Linked DNA regions of Homo sapiens: regions 2, 3, 4 and 5 are each linked to region 1. Evidence: promoter capture Hi-C in 16 types of primary human blood cells and fetal thymus (Javierre and others, 2016). All regions are on one chromosome and are shown on one strand. The core of a region is centred on a gene start or on the middle of the fragment in contact, and the rest is flanking DNA. Distances in the headings are between cores, read along the strand shown.

What was found. Contacts are between HindIII fragments. The CHiCAGO score rates a contact against its expected background, and 5 or more counts as called.
Region 2: a fragment that was not itself captured here is called in contact with the fragment with the promoter of MAK16 in region 1 in 1 of 17 cell types (M0 macrophages); the score reaches 6.6 in M0 macrophages.
Region 3: a contact is called between the fragment with the promoter of TM2D2 here and the fragment with the promoter of MAK16 in region 1, in 3 of 17 cell types (monocytes, total CD8 T cells and non-activated CD4 T cells). The highest score is 6.0, in monocytes.
Region 4: a fragment that was not itself captured here is called in contact with the fragment with the promoter of MAK16 in region 1 in 1 of 17 cell types (total CD4 T cells); the score reaches 6.2 in total CD4 T cells.
Region 5: a fragment that was not itself captured here is called in contact with the fragment with the promoter of MAK16 in region 1 in 1 of 17 cell types (naive CD8 T cells); the score reaches 6.2 in naive CD8 T cells.

Annotation. Positions count from the first base shown.
Region 1 is chr8:33,483,752-33,486,590 of GRCh38, reverse strand. MAK16 (MAK16 homolog) reads right to left here and starts at 1,409. Exons shown (of 10, transcript NM_032509.4): 1 at 1,370-1,409. The coding sequence starts at 1,384. RefSeq lists silencers at 1,402-1,589, 1,800-1,989 and enhancers at 1,480-1,629, 1,617-2,253. The HindIII fragment of the contact is 3,746 bases long and covers 1-2,839 here.
Region 2 is chr8:39,045,803-39,048,641 of GRCh38, reverse strand. All of the region lies in intron 12 of ADAM9 (ADAM metallopeptidase domain 9), which reads right to left. Among named protein-coding and RNA genes, the nearest start is that of SNORD38D, 29 kb to the right of the region's middle. The HindIII fragment of the contact is 1,364 bases long and covers 727-2,090 here.
Region 3 is chr8:38,995,133-38,997,971 of GRCh38, reverse strand. TM2D2 (TM2 domain containing 2) reads left to right here and starts at 1,463. Exons shown (of 4, transcript NM_078473.3): 1 at 1,463-1,759; 2 at 2,567-2,654. The coding sequence starts at 1,533. It overlaps ADAM9 (ADAM metallopeptidase domain 9), which reads right to left and starts at 999. Exons shown (of 22, transcript NM_003816.3): 1 at 812-999. The coding sequence starts at 908. RefSeq lists a silencer at 363-792 and enhancers at 803-1,112, 1,123-1,172, 1,233-1,332, 1,493-1,682, 1,291-1,812 and 1 more. The HindIII fragment of the contact is 5,467 bases long and covers 1-2,839 here.
Region 4 is chr8:38,793,380-38,796,218 of GRCh38, reverse strand. The region is part of intron 2 of TACC1 (transforming acidic coiled-coil containing protein 1); the gene reads right to left. Among named protein-coding and RNA genes, the nearest start is that of TACC1, 7.6 kb to the right of the region's middle. RefSeq lists an enhancer at 1,954-2,248. The HindIII fragment of the contact is 342 bases long and covers 1,233-1,574 here.
Region 5 is chr8:38,774,161-38,776,999 of GRCh38, reverse strand. It overlaps a transcript of TACC1 not described here. Among named protein-coding and RNA genes, the nearest start is that of TACC1, 12 kb to the left of the region's middle. The HindIII fragment of the contact is 2,473 bases long and covers 136-2,608 here.

The sequences.
Region 1 (2,839 bases), core at 160-2,659:
GGCGAAGCCACTTTCGTTTTTAAAAAAATTTATTTACTTTAGAGATAGGGTCTCTCTGTCACCCAGGCTGGAGTGCAGTGGTGCCATCATAGCTCACTGCAGCCTCGGACTTTTCGGCTCAAGTAGTCCTTCTGCCTCAGCCTTCGAAGTAACTGGGACCTCAGGCGAACACCACCGCGCCCAGCTAATTTTTTATTTTTTGTAGAGATGGAGTCTCACTTTATTGCCTAGGCTGGAATCGAACTCCTGGCCTCAAGCGATCCTCCAGCCCCAGCCTCCCAAAGCGTTGGGATTACAGGCATGAGCCACTGTGTCTGGCTTGAAGCAACCTTTGTCATACCCTAGTCTCCTTGCTTTCATTTTTTCCCTCCAAAAGTCCTTCACACAGCAACTAGACAACTTTTCACAAACATAGATCATTAAAAGGCCTAAAAAACACTTCCTACAAGATTCTGCATGACCTCGCCCTGGCAAGCATATCTAATTTCATTACCTGTCTTACATTGTCACTTTGATGACCCTTATATTCATTCTCTCATATCTTCAACTCTTTGTACTTTACTGTTCCTACTGCCTGGATTGCTTTTTCCTCAGCTCCTCAGTGACTGGCTTATTCTTATCTTTTAGATCTCAACTCAAACATCTTCTGTTCAGAGAAACCTTCCCTGAGTAACCCTATCTGAAGTGTCCTTCATCATCTCTGGTCTTTCTTTCATAGTATGATTATATAGTGTAATTGTTAACTTATTTGTTCACTTGTTTACTGTGTCTCCCCCATCAGTGTTCCAGGAGAGGTGGGACATTTTTTCTGGTTAACCAAATCCTCAATAATTACCACAATGCCTGGCACACTGTAAGCACACTGTTATTTCTCCAACAAAAAACTCAATGAATGAATCTAGGATACTTCCGAAATTATGACTTAGGCAGAAGTAGAGCAAATGTAAAGAAAAGCCTACACAGGAAACGCAGATGGAAGAGTAACGCGCACATGGATGAGAAGGACGCTTAAACTTGGAGTCAGCTTCGCCAAATCCCGGGCCGCCCCCCACCCCAAGTCCGGAGCTGACAGCTGACAGCTGACAGCATGACGCGACGTCCTGCATTGGTAGGCACGAAGGACGGGACACATCGACCCCATGGGCTGAGGTGACGGAGTCCTGTGCTCACAACCCGGCCGGGGCAGCGGGCAGTAAACCCCTGCTAGACACGCGTGAGAACCTATGTTGGAAAATCGGGGTTCCGGAAGCCTCACATCCAGAGCGGCACGAGGCAACAGACCCGCTGCGTACGCGTTTTCTAAGTGTCCGAAAATGGGCAAAATTCCCTGCGCAAACCCCGGGTGTAAGAACAACCGGAGGAGACTCACATCATCCGACTGCATGGTGTCCGCGGCTCAGCGTGCAACTTCCGGTCGGATCGCGGGCGCAGACATGCTCCTTCCGGGAAACCAGTTCCGGAACGCGCAGCCTCACCTATCTCGAGAAACGCTGAGACTCTCGGTGTTGCGAAGCGTCCCCTGGCAGTCTCGTCGCCGCGCGCGCGCCCCCGCGTCTTCACCACGCTGGCGTCTGCGCGCGCCCGTCCGCAATGCTGGGCTTGTTCATGGGCGCAGCCTGGAGCTGGGAACCCTGTTGGGACCCAGTGCGATCCGCGGGAGGCAGGACGCGCGCAGTCTGCCGAATCCTGGAGCGCGGGGACCGCGGGGGTCGGGCGTGCTTCCCTAGCGCCCTGTTTGTGACCGTTCATGAGGATGGGACCCCTCCCTGTCGGGCCTCCCCTCTGCTGGGAGGAGGCTGGGGAAAGCTGCAGGCGGCGCGGCGGGGCTGGGTCCCCGCTCCTCCGAGTCCCCCGGCCCCAGCTCGCAGCCAGGCCCCGGCCCTGCCCCTCAGACCCTGACTTAGCCACTCCCCACGCCCACGTTGGGTGCGGCACCGGGTCCTGACTTTAGAAACTCAGAACTTGAATTCCTCCTGCTTTGAGAAACCACTGACCAAATGGAAAGAGCATTCCAATAATAATAAACACCTGTGTCTTCCTCATTGCCTATTTGAGACAACAAACAAAGTTGATAAGGGAGGGAAAATACCAAGAAGAAAAGTAGAGGTCTAATAACCCACAAAAACAAATCTGGAAGCCTAACAGCTCTTTTCCGCCAGGGGAAAAAGAAAATCTTTACTAGTTTGTATCGTATTATAGAAGAAAGACTGTCGGCCGGGCCGGGCGCGGTGGCTCTCGCCTGTACCTCAGCACTTTGGGCGGCCTAGGCGGGCGAGTTCCAGACCAGCCTGGCCAACATAGTGAAATCCCGTCTCTACTAAAAATACAAAAATTAGTCGGGCGTGGTAGCAGGTGCCTGTAATCCCAGCTACTTGGGAGGCTGAGGCAGGAGAATCGCTTGAACCCGGGAGGCGGAGGTTGCAGTGAGCCGAGATCATGCTGTGGCCCTCCAGCCTGGGTGACAACCAAAACTACCTCTCAAAAAAAAAAAAAGAAAAAGAAAAAAGAAAAGGAAAGAAAGACTGTCAAGAGGCATTTGAACCAGAGCAACCCCATCTTGAATAGTGGCTGGGTAAAATAAGGCTGAGATCTGCTAGGCTGCATTCCCGAGGGTCAGGCCATCTAAATCACAGGATGAGGTCAGCACAAAATACAGGTCATAAGGATGTTGCTGATAAAACAGATTGCAGTAAAGAAGCCAGTCAAGACCCACAAAACCAAGATGGCAATGAGTTTGACCTCTGGTCGTCCTCACTGCTACACTCCCACTGGCGCCACAAATGCCATGGCAACATCAGGAAATTACTCTATATGGTCTAAAAAGGAGAGGCGTAAGTAA
Region 2 (2,839 bases), core at 159-2,658, 5.6 Mb before region 1:
TAGATAGAAGATCAATACGGAAACACAGGACTTGAACAACACTACAGACCAAATCAAACTAATAGACATATACAGAACATTCTACCCAACAGTGGCAGAATACATACTATTCTCAGGCACACATGGAACTCTCTCCAGGCTCACATTTTAGGTCACAAAACAGGTCTTCAGAAATTTAAGAAGACTGAAATCATACCAAATATATTTTCTGACCAAAATGGATGAAACTAGCAATTAGAATAGAAAAAGACAACAATAAAAGCAGAAAGGAAAATGGAAAATTCACCAATATGTGGAAATTAAACAACACACTGTGGAACAACCATTGGGTCAAAAAGGAAATCAAACACAAGATTAAAAAATACTTTTGGACAAACAAAAAACACAATATGTAAAAACTTATGAAATAAAACAAAAATAATACTAAAAGGAGGACAGATGTGGTGGCTCACGCCTGTAATCCCAGACCAAGGCGGGTAGATCACCTGAGATCAGGAGATCGAGACCAGCCTGGCCAACATGGCGAAACCCCATCTCTACTAAAAATACAAAAATTAGCTAGGCATGGTGGTGCGCGCCTGTAATCCTAGCTACTGAGGAGGCTGAGGCACAAGAATCACTAGAAACCAGGAGGTGGAGGTTGCAATGAGCCAAGATTGCCCCACTACACTCCAGCCTGGACAACACAGTGAGACTCTGTCAAAAAAAAAAAATACAAGGAAAGCTTGCTGTGATAACCTATATTAAAAAAAAAAACTCAAATAAACAACCTAACTTTACAACCCAAGAAATCTGAAAAGCAACAGAAAATTTAAACCCAAAATTATCATAAGGGAAATAATGAACTTCAGATCAGAAATAAACAAAATTGAGACTAGAAAAAGAATTGAAAAATCAGCAAAACCAAGAGTTAGTATTTTTCAAAAGATAAGCAATATTAACCAATCTTAGCTACACTAAGAAAAAGAAAGAGAAGACTCAAAATCAGAAATGAGAAAGGAGACATTTCAACTGATGCCATAAATAAAAAGAATTATAAAAGACTACTATAAACATTTACACATCAACAAACTGGATCACCTAAAAGAAACGGATAAATTCCTAGAAACACACATCCCACCAAGACTGAATCATAAAGAAATAAGTCTGAACAGACCTATAAGTAGTAAGGATATGAATCAGTAATCAAAAACCTCCTAGCAAAGAAAAGCACAGGACCAATGGCTTTACTGGTGAAATCTACCAAACATTTAAAGAACTAATGCCAATCATTCTAAAAATTCACCCAAAAAATAGAGGAGGAGGAGAAAATTCCACTCATTTTATGAGGCCAGCATTATCCTGATGCAGACTGTATCACCAAGGCCAATATGCCAAATATAGAAAACTACAGGCCAATGTGCCAAACAAATACAGATGCAAAATCCTCAACAAAATACTAGCAAACCAAATTCAGCAGCACATTAAAAGTAAAATACAACATGACCTAGTAGAATTTATCCTTGGGTATAAATTGGGATGGCTCAATATACAAAAATCAATTAAGGCTCAATATACAAAAATCAATTAATGAGATCAGGTGCAGTGGTGCACACCTGTAATCCCAGCACTCTGGGCGTCTTACGCAGGCAGACTGCTTGAGTCCAGGAGTTCGAGACCAGTCTAGGCAATGTAGCAAAACCCCTTCTCTACAAAACATACAAAAATGTGTGAGGCATGGTGGCATATGCCTGTAGTCCCGACTACTCAAGAGGCTGAGGCACGAGGATCACTTGGGCCCATTAGGTCAAAGCTGCAGTGAGCTGTGTTCACAGCACTGCAGTCCAGCCTGGGCAACAGTAAGACCCTGTCTCAAAAAAAAAAAAATTTAATTAATTAAATAATGAGATATACCACATTAACAAAATGAAGGATAAAAATAGCATGATCATCTCAATAGATACAGAAAAAGCACTTGATAAAATTCTACACCCTTTCATGCAAAAAGCTCTCAACAAACTAGAAATAAAGGAAAATAACTTCAACATAATTAGGCCATATATGAAATTCCCATAGCTAAAATCATACCTAGTTGTGAAAAACAAAAAGCTTTTCCTCTGAGATCAGAAATGAAGCAAGGATGCCCAATCTCGCCACTTCTATTCAACTTAGTATTGGAAGTCCTAGCCAGAACAATTAGCAAGAAAAACTAAAAGGCATCTAAATCGGAAATGAAGCAAAACTGTCCCTCTTTTAAGATGACATGATCATACATATAGAAAATCCCAAAGAGTCCATCAAAAAACTTGTTATAACTAATAAATAAATTCAGTAAAGTTGCAGGAAACAAAACTGACACACAAAAATAAGGTCATTTTCACATACTAACAATGAACTACAAAAAGGAAATTAAGGAAACAAAGCTATTTACAATAGCATTGAAAACAAAACATTTGTGAATAAGCTTAACAAGTGAGGAAAAAGATCACACACTAAAAACTTACAAAACATTGCTAAAAGAAATAAAAGATGATACAAATAAATGGAAAGACATCCTATGTTCATGGATTGGAATAATTAAAATTGGTAAATTGTCCATATTACCCAAAGTGATCTGCAGATTCAATAAAATCCATTCCTCAGAAGAAGAAATACAAGCAGCTGCCAAACACAGGAAAAAATGCTCAACATCATTGAAAATCAGAGAATGCATATTAAAACCACAATGAGATATCATCTTACAATAGTCAGAATGGCTATCATTAAAAAGTCAAAAAAAAAAAGGCTGATCTTGGTGCAGATGCAGAAAAAAGGGAATGCTTATACATTGTTGGTGAGAATGTAAATTAGTTCAACCTCT
Region 3 (2,839 bases), core at 214-2,713, 5.5 Mb before region 1:
ATGTTTGGGCATCTCCAATACAAGTATCTTACATAGTCAAGGGCAGTTTCACAATTCAAAAACGATTTCACACAAATGATTTAATTCCTACAATAATCCTGTGAGTTCAAAAGAGCAGGGATTATCTGTCCGGATTTAACACAGTACGAACCCAATAAAAACACAGATTTTTTAAGAATGGTTTGGCTATAGAAAGGTAGCACATCGTTTACAAAATATTCTTACTACAAAAATGACCCAAGAGAAATGAGCGTCCTCCCACCCACCTTTATTCCACCATTAAATTTAGCTGTGTTGACCCAAGGATACCATGAACGTCAAAATTTCAAATTATAACCTGCAGCAAAAGTTTCATCTCTCAGTCTCTTTCCAAGCGACATTAACTCCACGAGCGAGAGCCAGCTCCCTCCCTGCAGGCGTTTGGAGGACTGAACGCCCGCGGGCGCGCCCAGCCTGCAGGGCTCCGGCCCGCCGAGGTCAGCGCCCGCCCCAGAGCGGGTTTCGGGGCGTCTGGGGGACCCGGGGTCGCGCGAGGCGGCGAGGGATGGGGGGACGCTGGGAACGGCTCCATCGAACAGGACACGGAGGAAGCGGTGCCGGGCAGAGGACCCGGGCCAAGAAGGGCTTGGGGCGCCAAACCCCGCGCCTCGGGTGCGACCCCGGTCCGCACACACCTGGAGCGGCCGCGCCCCCCGACCCCGGGTCCGATCCCCAGGCCGGGCCCCTCCACTCCCAGGCACCACAGGTTCACTCCGAGCGCCCCGTCCCTAGGAAGCAGCCGTCCCAACCGACCCGGGGCGCGGACACCCACCTGGCCGCGCCGCACCGAGGACTGGGCCCACCAGGCCAAGCAACAGCAACCACCGGACACGAAGGGTCCCCGAGGGAAAGCGCGCGCCAGACCCCATCTCGGCCGATTCCGCAGGTTCCTCTCAGCACTCGGTCGCCTCCACCTCCGCCTCTTCCATCATTTTCCAACCCTGCCGGGGCCCCAAGTCTGGCCGGGAAGCGCGCGCGCCCGACGAGCACGCGCGCCCGACGAGCACGCGCGCGGCACTGACGCAACTGAGCCCTCGGTCCGAGCTCGCTCCCGACATCGCCTAGCTGCGCTGACGTAGGGAAAAATCCAGTCCCCGGCGCGAGAATAGGATTTCTAAACCGGCGGTGGCAACCAGCACTAGTCGGCCCGCCAGTCATATCCGCCCCGCCCCGTCGGCTGCCGGGCACGCCCACCTAGGGGGGTCGACGGATCCGATTGGAGAACGCATTCGGCGCAAAAGAAGGAGGAGCATGAGACCCAGAAGAGGAATCGAGAAGCAGAAGCAGAGGGCGGAGTAGCCCCGCCCGTCTGCTCGACCTTTTCTAGTTGGTTGGCGGAGGTGCGCGGAGCGTCGAGCTGCGCGTCCATTGGCTGTTTGGCGGGGCTACGCGGGCGGGGCTACGCGGAAAGGCCTGACCACGCAGTTCTTGGGTCTGTGCTGCTGGCCTGGGGTTGTGGTTGAGGCCGGGTCTCCGCTCCTGTGCCCGGGAAGATGGTGCTAGGTGGTTGCCCGGTTAGTTACTTACTTCTGTGCGGCCAGGCGGCTTTGCTGCTGGGGAATTTACTTCTGCTGCATTGTGTGTCTCGGAGCCACTCGCAAAATGCGACCGCTGAGCCTGAGCTCACATCCGCTGGCGCCGCCCAGCCGGAGGGCCCCGGGGGTGCTGCGAGCTGGGAATATGGCGACCCCCACTCTCCGGTCATCCTCTGCTCTTACCTGTAAGCTACCAGTGGTCGAGGCGGGTGGACGTGGAGGGTGTGCCAGGAATATATGGGTGTTAAGGGAAGGCAGGGTTGGGGGGACGCTGCATTTTTTCAGACCCTGCCTCTCTGAGGTCGTTCCGGAGGCAAATATCATGAACCAGGTTTCTCACAGCCCGTGCAGAGAAAACTCTTGTGTGTCAGTGACAGAGGCTTTGAGATCCCCAAAGAGGAAAACTGGGTAGGAGTAACATCATATAGCCTCTGGAAGAAGGGCGTAAGGTTGTGCTTTCTTTGCCCTGCGCCCTTTAGCCCAAGGAGAGTATTAGTCGGTCGATTCGGTGCCAGTACTGAGTAAGGCATAAATGGAGTAAATGACTTGTCTCTGCCTACAAGGCATCTTTTAAAAAAGCAATCAATATTCTTACCGTTGCAGAATCACGCCATTTTTTAACATCTCTTTTTGATCAAACAAGAAAAGGCATTTGGGAAATGCAAAGAGGACTGAGAATACTTTGGCTTAAATTTTGCCCCCAGAATCTTGTTGTTTGCCTACTGAAGAGATGAAACCATGGCAGAAGTAGAATCCTTATAGAAACAGGACCAGAAACACCTCCCTTCTCCAACAAAAGGTTCATTTTGGTGGCTGTCCGTTTGACCTGCTGTGCTTCAGTTTAATTGGCTTGGAAAGGGGTCAGCAGGGTGAAACCGAACCCCAGAAAACTTGATGAAGAAATGTCTTTTGCCCGTTTTGATTACGTGCATGCAAACAGCGATTTGCAAAGACCGTATGATGATGATCATGATCTTACTGGTGAATTACAGACCTGATGAATTTATAGAATGTGAAGACCCAGTGGATCATGTTGGAAATGCAACTGCATCCCAGGAACTTGGTTATGGTTGTCTCAAGGTGAGTTTTTGTTTTGTCGTAAGAGCAAACCCTTCGATAACGAAATAGGAATGTCTGAATGCTATTACATAAAAGTATAAGAGGTACAAAGTTTTTTGAAGAATTTCCTCAGAAAGACCGTTACTGGAAATTTCCAGTATGGCCAGGGTCAGTGACTGAACAAGATATTTGGTTTCCTTATGAAG
Region 4 (2,839 bases), core at 154-2,653, 5.3 Mb before region 1:
AATTTCCCAATCTGTGAAATGGAAATCACTTGTGTCCTATCTCGCAGAATCATGGTCATAAAAATCAAACAAGATGCTGCAAACAAAGATTACTTGTTCCCAACACATCTAATAAATAAATACGGCTGAAACAGATAGCTGGTGATCTGCTAGGTGGGAATATTGTAATGGGAAAGCTGGAGATCAATCATTTATTGTCATATTTCCAGCTATGATATAAGAAAGAGGGTCCTCGACTGGCTAGGAGAGTATCTGCATCTGCCAAACTGTCAAGATACATTTTTCATTTGTGAATTAATAAAATACTCCATGCCATTATTATTATTCCCTTGTGAGTCTGGCCATCATCAATCTAAACCCTGGGGATCTAATCATGTTTGTTTGAACTCATAAAATTAGGTCATGTACATGCAAAGGTGAGGGTGAGATCTTGAACTCACAAGTAGCAAAGCCTTTCTAAGCCCAGATTTAATAGTCACCAGGCAATTTAGCAACCTTGGTTATGAAATCTCCACTGAGAGGGTTGTTTTGGGTGGATAAACCATTATCTCCCATCGCTACTCTGGATTTAGGAGAGTGTGACAAAATGGTTTATACCCTCCAAGATTTCCTCTGGGCAGTATAACTGGTAACCTGAAAAAGACACTGCAACTGCTCTTTCATTTAAATGTTTAAATGGCTTTAGGCCACATCCATTTTGTAGGTGGGACATTACATGGCAGCAATATAATTTTAGAAGGACTGCCGGCTCCCAAAACACATACACAGGTAGAAAGTGTCTCTGCCACCCGCAAGTACCAAAGTAAGTTCTACTGCTTTATTCGATGCTTGGGTAAGCCCAAAATGGGGGAGTGCAAGGTCTTGATTTTGTCACTCATCTTAAAAGAAAAATTGTGATTTGATAGTTACTAAAATCTTTCCTTTCTGCAGGTAGACTTTGCTTCCCTGCCCTGGAATTTTTTATTCAGACACTGTTGCTCCTCTGTGGTTCTGCACTCTCACAAGTTTCTGCTGGAAAAACTACACTTTTTTCCCCAGGAAGACACTCCCTTGGGTAAGGCACCATATAGAAGCAGGTGCTTCCTAGGGGCACATTTACATTGTGATAGAGCAACAACAACAAAAAAACACATGACTCTGATCTCATTTATTAGCTGGTTGGAATCTCCAACTTCAGAGCTAAAAATACATGAAAAAACAAAGTAGCTATATCATGCTAAGATTTTCAAGCTTTAAATACCTTAACATGGAATTATACAGTACAAAAAAATCAAACTGTGGAAGAGGCAATCACAGCAAAACATTAAAAATTTAAAATTAAATTAAAAGCATTAGGCTGCGATGCTGTTGAAGGAGCCACATGGGTTGGACTGCTGGACTAGGTAATATGAAAGGTCCTAATTAGTCCCATTATTTCTAGGAAACTCTAATAAAGCATTCCCTTGTTGGAGCAGGGAAAGGATGTTAAACTAAATCCTTAGGAGGATATACTTGTAGACTTGAATGGAACACTTCAATATGTACCTAATGAAAATTTTTCACATAGTATCTGATTAAACATATAACTCAAAGCTTTAGAATAAAAAATCAAAGCCTCTGATTTTAACAAGGTTTCCATGCTGTGTTTTCTATAGCACGCACACACACACACACACAAACAAACACACACACACGTGCAGTCTAAAACATTCTAAAAATACACCATATCAACCTTTTAAGAGATCTGCACAGTCAACTTACAAATTCTCATACACCCGAAGTTACATTAAAGACATTTAATGGGTTGGGTGAGGCTGGCTCATGCCTGTAACCCCAACACTTTGGGAGGCCAAGGTGGGAGGATCACTTGAGCCCAGGAGTTCGAGACCAGCCTGGGCAACACAGTGAAACCCCATCACTATTTTTTTAAAAAAAATTTAAGAAAATAAAATGTTAAAAAAAATTTAATGGGCAAAAGTTAAAAGTCTATGTGTTTGTACTTCTATTAAATGATTCCAATATTCTCCCCATTCTTCCCTAATTTCCTTTTTAAATAATTTTTATTCCTCCTTAGATCTTTGAGTCAATTGAAAATCAAGTTCATTGCAGACCAATTACATCACTTCCCCTTTGCAAATATGACAAATAGCCAGGCCACATCAGGCTCTCCCCTGGGCCTTCCCTGAACATGCAGGCCTAGACTAATGGCACCTCACGCCCACAGTTCATTTGTTCAGCAGGTATAACCTTGCACCTTTTCATTCTTAAAGCCATTTTCCCAAATTACTTAAACTCTGTATTTTTACTGAAATTGTAATAAGTATAGATGTAGGTTGACATTTTTTTTCTGTACAAGATAGTAAATATGTTAGACTTTTGCCAGACATTTGGTCTCTGTTCCAAGTACTCAACCCAGCTATTGTAGAGCAAAAGCAGCCATAGACAATACATGAATGAATGAGTATGGCTGTATTCCAATAACTTTATTTATGGGGATGACAGTGGTGGTTCAAACCTGAAATCCCAGCATTTTGGGAGGCTGAGGTGGGAGGATCACTTACTTGAGCCCTGGAGCTCAAGATCAGCCTGGGCAACATAGCAAGACCCCATATCTACCAAAATATATATTTCATATATATATAACTTGATGGGCCCTGAAATTTTGTTTTGTTTTTTTTTAAGAACTACTTTATTGAGATATAATTCACAAACCATACAGTCCACCCTTTAAAATATATGATGCAATGGTTTTTAGTAAATTCACATAATCGTGTGACCATTGATGGGCCCTGAAATTTGGATTTCACATTATTTTCACACATCACCATTAAACCATCAAAAAATGTAAAACTCATTCTTC
Region 5 (2,839 bases), core at 123-2,622, 5.3 Mb before region 1:
ACAGGCGTGAGCCACCGTGCCCAGCCTAAAAGTCTATCTTCTTTATCAGACTGTGTCACTGGGCCCCTTTGTAACAGCAGCCTCATCTCCACCCTCACATTACAACCTCCTCTGGGGGATTTCAGCATCTAAGCTTCCTTAGATGAAGGTATGGGAAGAACCTGCCTTAAATTTCGTTCTACATTCTTCTGAACAGGATTACATGAAAGTTCCTTCAAAGATGGAAGCATTTTTAAAAATGATAAATCTACACAGGTTGAGCATCCCTAATCCAACAATCTAAAATCCAAAACGTTTTGCTTGTCAACATGACACCACAGTGGAAAATTCCACACCTAATTTCATGTGGCCAGTCACAGTCAAAACACAGTCAAAACTTTGTTTCATGCACAAAATTATTACAACTGCTGTTTAAAATTACCTTCAGGCTATGTGTAGAAGGTGTATATGAAACATAATGAATCTCATGTTTAGACTTGGGTCCCATCCCCAAGCTATCTCATTATGTATATGCAAATATTCCAAAATCTAAAATCTGAAACACTTCTGGTCCTAAGCATTTTGGATAAGGAACACTCTACCTGTATCTCAATGATGTCTTTTCTCAGGGCAGAAAATTCCCGAACCAAAAGACTCAAGCCTGCCCCGTGGATGATGTCCTAATTATCCTAAAAACAGGACTGAGACTACCCTTCCTTCTGCCGTAATGACTTGAGCTGTGATACTGACTTTCTAGAAATTAGGCAGTTGCATTTTTAAAGATGACTGATGTGGACAAAAACGTTGAAGAAGGAGGGAGTCAATATTTAGATTTCACAAAGGCCAAGTAGAATGGATTTACATATTGATGAAGGTTATTATTTTCTTTGGGGAGATTTCCTTGAAATAATATGATTGTATAACTCCAATATTTGCCCAATTCTAAGGATAAATAATAACAATAATAAATAATAACTGACCCAAATCCTATAAGTGAATTAATCATTGTTCTTTGGCTTCAACACTAACTGGTGCTAGTGACGATTTCTAGCACACACACAAAATATTTTTAGAAATTGTTTTCTTATGGGCTCAATTAGTCAAGTTATTTTGTTGTATTATTTTATAGAACTATGACAAGCAAGAGCGAGTTTATCCTTACCGGTCTTCCCTGTACCTCATCATGTATGATATAGGAATATCTTATGTGTTTTCTGTTTCCTTTGGCCAAGGCATAGACACTGAGCAGAATATATTTGTTTTACATTATTTTCTGAACAAATGATAAATCACTGCTACAGACTGACTGTTTATATCCCCCCAAAATTCATAGGTTAAAACCTAAACTCCAATGTGAGAATATTAAGAAGTGGGGCCTTTGGGAGGTGATTAGGTCATGAGGGTTCTTCCTGGGGTCAGCGCCCTTATAAAAGAGACCCCAGACAGCTCCCTCTCCCTTCTTCTGCCAAATGAGGACACAGGGAGAAGACATCCAGGAGGTCAGCCTTCACCAGATGTGGAATCTGCTGGTCCCTTAATCATGGGGACCTCCATCCTCCAGAACTTCCAGAAATAAATGACTGGTTTATAAACCACCCAGGCAATTATATCCTTATAGTAGCCTTAACAGACTAAGATAATCACTGACTCCTAACCTAAGCATCCATCTCAGATCTCATAGAACCACAGAAATTTTTAGCTGGAAAGGACCTTTGCCAAAGATCACTGGGTCGAATATCATTCTTTTTGGAAGAAGGTTTACTCAGGCACCAAAGTGCACAACTAGGATTCATAACCCTTGCAAGGAAGGTATGAAGGTATGAATTCTGGAGTTTCCCCCCAGCCCCAAAAGATATGCCCACTTGGTATGTATAATAGAGATATGACTTCTCCCCAAAATTCACCTCATTTTAAAAGGCACTGTAAATTGTTTTATAAAGCAAATACATACAAATAGTCTTGTACTTTGTTTTAAAAGTTTTTGGTTTTCATTTTTTTTTTTTTTTTTTTGAGACGGAGTCTCACCGTGTCACCCAGGCTGGAGTGCAGTGGTGCGATCTTCGCTCACTGCAACCTCTGCCTCTGGGGTTCAAGCGATTCTCCTGCTTCAGCCTCCCGAGTAGCTGGGATTACATGCATGTGCCACCATGCCCAGCTAATTTTTGTATTTTTAGTAGAGAGGGGGTTTCACCATGTTGGACAGGCTGGTCTCGAACTCCTGACCTCGTGATCCGCCCGCCTCGGCCTCCCAAAGTGCTGGGATTACAGGCGTGAGCCACCGTGGCTGGCCTTTAAAAATATTTTTATAGCCTAGGCAACATAGTGAGACCCCATCCCTTCAAAAACAAAAACAAAAAAAAATTAGCCTGGTGTGGCAATGCACACCTGTAGTCCTAGCTACTTGGGAGGCCAAGATGGGAGGATCATTTGAGCCCAGGAATTCAAGGTTGCAGTGAGCTGTGATGCTACCACTGCACTTCAGCCTGGGCTATAGAGTGAGACTCTGTCTCAAAACAATAATAAAAAATGTATTTTTAAATACCTTTAGTGTTTAAGGCAAAATAATACATATGTTCATTCATTCATTCATTCATTCATTCATTCCACAAATTTGACAAATGACCAAGCTTTGCCAGCCTCTGCTGAACACTGTGTTGAACAAAAGAGACCCAGTTCCTGCCCTCATAGAACTTGCATATTAGTGAGCTTAGTAAGCCAACAAATAAATATGTAATATATAAATTGTCATGTATGAAATATAAGAACTGCAGGGGGCTCTGAGAATGGCTGGTGGACGGCATCGGTGGAGATGTCAAGGGAGGTTGCTCTGAAGGAGTGACAGACTGAAGCCTCAGGGATA